2 separate regions of the Homo sapiens genome follow, and region 2 is linked to region 1. The links are contacts of gene promoters, found by promoter capture Hi-C in blood cells and fetal thymus (Javierre and others, 2016). All regions are on one chromosome and are shown on one strand. Each heading gives the region's core, a stretch centred on a gene start or on the middle of the fragment in contact. The rest is flanking DNA. Distances are from core to core; before and after follow the strand shown.

Region 1 (3,259 bases), core at 498-2,997:
CTTTGCCACCTGCACTTTTTTACCAAGCTCCTGGCTCTCATGGCTTTAGCTCTAACATGTTGTATGGGTTTGGACACCTTGAAAAGTGCTTAGGAGGTCTTGGGGCCAGACCTGGATTCAAATCCAACCTCTTCCACATGTTACCTTTCTATCTCTAGGCAAGTTACTTAAACTGTGTGCATAGATCAGTTTCCTGATCTATATAAAGAAAATAACAGCATCTCCTCAAAGAGTTATTCTGAAGATGAAATGGGTTACTACAAGTAAAGCACTTAGAGCAGTAAGTGGAACAGTAAGCTCTCCATGAGCGTTAGTTCTTGCTGTGATTCTTTGGAGAAGCAGCCTAGGGAAGGAGAAGACCTTGTCCTGGCTCTACCATTTATTTGCTTTGTGCCTTTGGACATGGAAACACTAAGATTTCCATTTCTTCATGTAAAGTATTAAAATCTTGATAATGCATGGAGTGCCTATCTCACAGAGTGGCAGTGAGGTTCAAATAAGCTAATAGATGTGAAAATGCTTTGTAAACTATAAAAAAAAACTGTACAAATGTAGGGTAACAAATGCCATCTCTTTCTGTCTATACCTGTAAGCTTGCACTCATTTTGTATTATAGTTACTTATTTTTATCTGCCTCCTGCATTAGATTTGAGCTCCTCAAGATAGGAATCACATCTTGCTGTCTCCTATATCAACCTGTACATGAGTCTAGCTTGATGCCTGTACATGGCATATACTCAGTACAGGGAAACTGGAAGAATAGCAAACTCCTTGTGTGTTTTTTCGGGTGTGTGTTCCAGTAGCTTGCTCCCCTTTAGACTGTATGTGCCAGGACTATTCCACCCGACATCAGGTGTAGCTTCCCAGAGGGCTCACTGTGAACAGCATCTGCAGGCAGGCATCCAACACCAAGCTGAGCACTCATGTACAGACACTAAATGTGGGGACACCCTGTCCTGAGGCTCGGATCCCCAGTGCTCAGCCAGCAGCTGTTCCAATCCCCATGAGGTCTCTGAATGAGTCTCCTTACTACTGGAGAGACTACTAGTTTAGTTGCCCTCGATAGTCCAAACTAGGGAAATTGAGAAATTGAACCTTGGCATATTCAGTGAAGTCCAGACTAAGGAAGCTGAGAAACTGAACCTTGGCATGTTCACTGACCTCAAGGCCTTACTTCTTTTTCTTCCATTTCAAAATCTTCCCAAAATGGCAACTTTGGCTTTTGTGCCCCTGCTCCTAGCTCCCATCTTTCATGAAGTGGGTGTTCTTAGAGGATGCCATCTGCCTGATGGTGTCATGTATCTCTATATCCTGCAAGCTACCCACCAAATCCTGCTCACAGATTAAGCACTGGATACATACTTGCTGATTGGAATTTAAAGAAAACCAAAATAAGTAAACTCGACAGGAGATTAATTGCCTAGGAGTCGGTTGACTGCTTGACTGAAGCTGGATTTTTTTTGGGAACCGCTGGCTGCCTTCACATTTCCTGATGGAAGTGGGACAGGTCAACAGACAGCCCAGAGTGGCAGATAACTTTTGCCCACACGTCATTCATTTTTTGGAGCGTTGGCTTGAAATTGAGGGGTGTGTGTGTCTGGAACCGACGTGCCTTCCGTGCGCCTCCGGGGTCTTTGCACTTTCTTTCAATGGGCTGATTACAACACAGAGGATGTGGACAGTGGAGTTTTTCCTGTTTGATGTCACACTGCTACCCTTTAAAAGTCTGACGGCAAAAAGGAGGGAATCCAGTCTAGGATCCTCACACCAGCTACTTGCAAGGGAGAAGGAAAAGGCCAGTAAGGCCTGGGCCAGGAGAGTCCCGACAGGAGTGTCAGGTTTCAATCTCAGCACCAGCCACTCAGAGCAGGGCACGATGTTGGGGGCCCGCCTCAGGCTCTGGGTCTGTGCCTTGTGCAGCGTCTGCAGCATGAGCGTCCTCAGAGCCTATCCCAATGCCTCCCCACTGCTCGGCTCCAGCTGGGGTGGCCTGATCCACCTGTACACAGCCACAGCCAGGAACAGCTACCACCTGCAGATCCACAAGAATGGCCATGTGGATGGCGCACCCCATCAGACCATCTACAGTGAGTAGGGCTTCAGGCTGGGAAGAAGGGGAGCACCCTTGTTGTCCATCTACAGGAGGCTTGGGGAGGTTGGGGACTAGACTGGAGGGCTAATCCAACCCTCCTAGCTTTCTGCCCAGGAACCACTTATTGTCTTTGTGTGTGTGTGTGTTTGTGTGTGTGTGTGTGTGCGTGTGTATTTAAAACTTAGGGGAAGATTCTGTCACTCTCCTAATTAGCATTTGCTGGTTTTTCTCAATATGAATAATTTTTATTTCAACTAAAACCCTTCCCACAGTAGGAGCCATGTTCCCTTTGCCCCGTCAAAAGATTGAAAAAATGTACAGAAAGAAAGGCAAGGAGTCTAAGAGAAAAAGAAGCCAGGCAGATCAACAGACACTAAGTTTCAGCTCATGGACTTTGGACTGGGTTAACTAGGGAGGTTGTAAAGATTCCTGGGTCATACCCAGATTGTTATAGATAAATCTGGGGGCTCTTTCCAACTCTGGCCTTATAAAAATTCTTGGAAAAATGTATTAAAGACAGACTGTCCATGTATGTTGTCTTGGTGAGAATGGCCAAGTATACAACCCATCCACCCATTCATTTGTCCATGCATCCATCCATCCATCCATCCATCCATCCATCCATCCATCCATCCATCCATCCAACAGGTTTAATGGGTGTTTCAGACACCCAGGTACCCAGGTACCCAGTATGAGTTGGTGATTCTTCTCTGTGGAACTGAAAGGTGTCCAGTCAGTAGCAAGTCAAGCTAGTTAGAAACTTATTGGCAACATGAGACAACTGGAATGTTTTTAAAGATCAGGTTTGTGGAGAATTGGATCACAATCCACAATAATCAATCCATTAGCAATGATTCAAATGAGGGTCCCTTTGTGTGCACCTATATAAGGGGTAATGTGGTGAAAGCAGGGATAGATATTGAAAAAGACTGGATCTTCTATTTTAAGAAAACGTGAGAAAACACCTCAAAGCATACAGAAAAATGCAAACTGATCCAATATAGCTCAAATTAAAGGAAAGAAAAATTAGTTAGACAATCTCTAACTAAAGAAAACATAGGAATTATGATTTGCCCTTTATTGTTGTAATAAATAAATTAATTATTTTTGCTGTGACCTTGCTGTGTGTGAGGCATTTATTCTTCTAGGCTCCAAAGGTCCTTAAAC
Region 2 (3,259 bases), core at 536-3,035, 480 kb after region 1:
AAACAAATTATGGCATATCTACACAATAGTATGTTGTATAACTATTAAAACTGGGTTTCAAAGAATATGTAAGTTGAGGAAATAATTCAGGACATAATGTTAGTTTTTTAATGTAGAATATAAACACTACCTAACCCACATTTTTAGTACTTCCATGTGCCTCATGGAACACAAGTCTCCAGAAGAGACTTGAAGGACATATACCAAAATGATAACAGTAGTGATCTCCAAATGATGAGAGCTAATTTTCGTTTTCTTCTTCATACATTTCTGTACTTCTAAGTTTTCTACTATGAATATATTTTGCTTTCGTGATTTACAAAATACAAAGACCACAAAGTTGAATGTGAAGAAGAAACATGGTACCAGGAATAAGCCCTCATGCTCTGAGGCAGATGGGCCAATGGCACCCTCATCACCCTTGCTCTGCCTGTTACAATTCCCCTTATGCTACCTGGCAAACACTAGTTGTTTTGTAGCCATGTCAGAATTTTTTGGCTCATGTTGGGCTTTTTGTTAACTACAATCTTCAAGACTTTTTCCCATTAACTATTGTCAATAATTTGAATAACTGAGTTTTTTTTTTTTTAATCAATATGAAGAACTTGCATTTTCTCCATTAAATTCCATCATGCTTATTTTGGCTCCTTGTTCAGGCAAACCACCATATCCTGTTTCTGTCATGCGGCATATTACTTAGACTTCTTCATTTTGTGTCAACTCATATTTATATGTTGGCATCTCTTTCATGTCATTGAAAGGATTTTCACAGAACCGGGCACCAAACAAGGACTAGCGGCATCTTGTGCTACACCTCTCTCTGAGTTGACTTGGCCCCGCCTGTCCAGTGCTTTTTGGATACAATGGTTTGCCTAGCTGTGCCTTCACCAAGCCATAGATCACCCAGGCCCTATCCATTCATTGTACCATAAAATGTGTTGTCGGAAGCCCTGTTGAAAGATTCACTACCTCTGGGACAATCTTGAGAGTTTTGGTAATCTTTCAAAAAAGAAAAAAATGTGAAGTGATGTTAGTATGACATGGTTTGTTCTACATAACCTGTGCTGGCTTCTTGAGATTACCACTTCCTTTTCAAAGCGATTGTAATCTAACTCCTTAATAATGCAGCTTACAGTTTGCTGGGGATCAAAGTTAAACTCAACAGTGCAAAGTTCCCCAAACCTACATATTTCCCCTTTTGACAACTCGGACAGTTGCCCATCACTAATCTTCTGGCATCACTCCTGAGATTCCTGAAAGATTACTGACAATCATTCTATGATTAAATCTACAAATTCTTTCAGTCCCCAGGGATGGAATTTGTCAGGGCCTGGAGATCTAAGCTTATTTAGAGAGCCCAGGTATTCATTTTCTAAAGAGCTTCATAACTAGGGCTGCAATTGCTTCTTTGCAGTGTTTATATTGTTCTTTCCAGTTTGAAGATCATTCTGAGAGATAGAGATGATGGAAGCTAAGTAGGAGTTGCATAATTCTGCTTTGTATCTGTCATCTGCTAGCATTACACCATCTGCCCCAAGCACAGGATCTGGCCCTTCCCTATTCTTCCTGCTCAGAATATACTTGCACAAAGCTCTTTTTGCTGTTCCTGAGCATTTTTTGCAAGTCTCAGCTCATTCTGAGCCCCAGCCTTGCTAACACTATGGCTACAAGCCTGTGACACTCTTTGCTTTTCTTCTCCGGTGATGTGCCCTGCTTAGTGCTTTTGTAAAGGCTCTTTGAAAACCTGAGAGTGCTGGAGGGCTTCCCCTGCTGGCTCGGGGTCTTCCCTTTGCTTCCTAGTCAGGATCACTGGAGACTGTATTGCCAGAATTTAATTTTGGAAAGAATGTTGCTTTAATGCTTCTTCTGTCCTCTCATTCTTTGAAAACAAAACAACAAAACAAAACAAAATAGTACAACAACAACAACCACCACAAAAATCACAGCTGCAAATGAGGTCTGATTAGAAACCAGTACAGTGTATTTAGGCTCATCATGGTAAAAAAAAATCTGACAAATGATAAAAAGCGTTGCTTAGTTTGCTTTAAATAAGAATGTGGAGGAACTGTTTTTTCTAGTTCATTGTGCAATGAGAAAAAAGGGAGGGAGCAGAGATCCAAAAAACAAGGACAATTAATATTGAGTAGCAACTACGTTCTTTCATTTAATCTTCATGTCAGTCCTGGAAGCACTGTCCTGATTTAGAGATGGAGAAAAATGAAGCTTAAGTTAAGTGACTTAGAGTAACTTTGTAAACCAGTGGGTAGAACCAAGGGTCAAACTCAGGCAGTGTGATTGGACTGCTCATGTGCTTTTTCCTACATTACGGGTATAGGTAAGCAGCTCACAAAACCATTCCACCCAAAGATGTGTTTTTTGGACCCTATGGCATTTAAAAAAATGTTTAGATTTATTGCCGACATTTATAACTTAGGAGATTTTACGTTCACTTCTAGAATCCTAGCTACTTTTGAGAACCTCTGGCCCTACATTTCCCCCATGGAAACCATTGGCCAAGTGGAGTAGTGGCGATCTGCCCTCTCCAGGTTGCCCCAATCCCCACCTTCCCCCTCATTTATATTCCCCGCTTGGTCCTGTTAGATGTTTGAGTTTGCACTGCCTTAGGCTATGCTGATACTCCATTGTTTTTCCTGGTTTCTGAGAGAAAGCCTTCTGCCATATGGAAAAGAAGGGAGCAAAGGTTATGAAAATCAAAGATATGTCTCTTGCACTCAATTCGGCCTTATTATTCCCCTGGAAAGGGCCTCCCAGAATCTTAAGAGGTTCCGAAAAAGAGTGTGCTTGTTTCACTCAGCTTGTCCCAGGATCCTCCATTCCCAATAATGGACTCCCTTTTGCACTGTGTTTCTTAAACCACAGAGTCTAACAAGAACATCATTCAACTTTTTAAAGCCTGTATGTATGGGCAAGAGAGCCTGTTCATATGACCTTCTAAATAGGACTCTTGGGCACGATCAGAATGTCTGGCTAAGCCTGCCTTCGTGGTTAGACACCACTAACAGACCATTGAAAATATGCACGTCGTAGATCATAGAGTGGACAGAACCTAGGCTGAGGATCAGGAAATCTGTTTTTTCATCTTGGTTCTGGTGTTAGAGGGATACCCAGTGCATAGAACATCACAGAAACACAGACCTCAAGGGGTAAGTCCAGAATGGGGGCTGGTAGTTAGAATGAAGACTATAGAGGGAATCTGAATATCATTTTGAAGGGAGAGATCCATCCATTCATTCAGTCA

The links. The method cuts DNA at HindIII sites, captures the fragments that hold promoters and counts their contacts. A CHiCAGO score of 5 or more calls a contact.
Region 2: a contact is called between a fragment that was not itself captured here and the fragment with the promoter of FGF23 in region 1, in 1 of 17 cell types (endothelial precursors). The highest score is 5.6, in endothelial precursors.

What each region holds. Positions count from the first base shown.
Region 1 is chr12:4,378,200-4,381,458 of GRCh38, reverse strand. It overlaps FGF23 (fibroblast growth factor 23), which reads left to right and starts at 1,747. Exons shown (of 3, transcript NM_020638.3): 1 at 1,747-2,087. The coding sequence starts at 1,877. The HindIII fragment of the contact is 6,643 bases long and covers 596-3,259 here.
Region 2 is chr12:3,895,338-3,898,596 of GRCh38, reverse strand. All of the region lies in intron 1 of PARP11-AS1 (PARP11 antisense RNA 1), which reads right to left. Among named protein-coding and RNA genes, the nearest start is that of PARP11, 24 kb to the right of the region's middle. The HindIII fragment of the contact is 880 bases long and covers 1,346-2,225 here.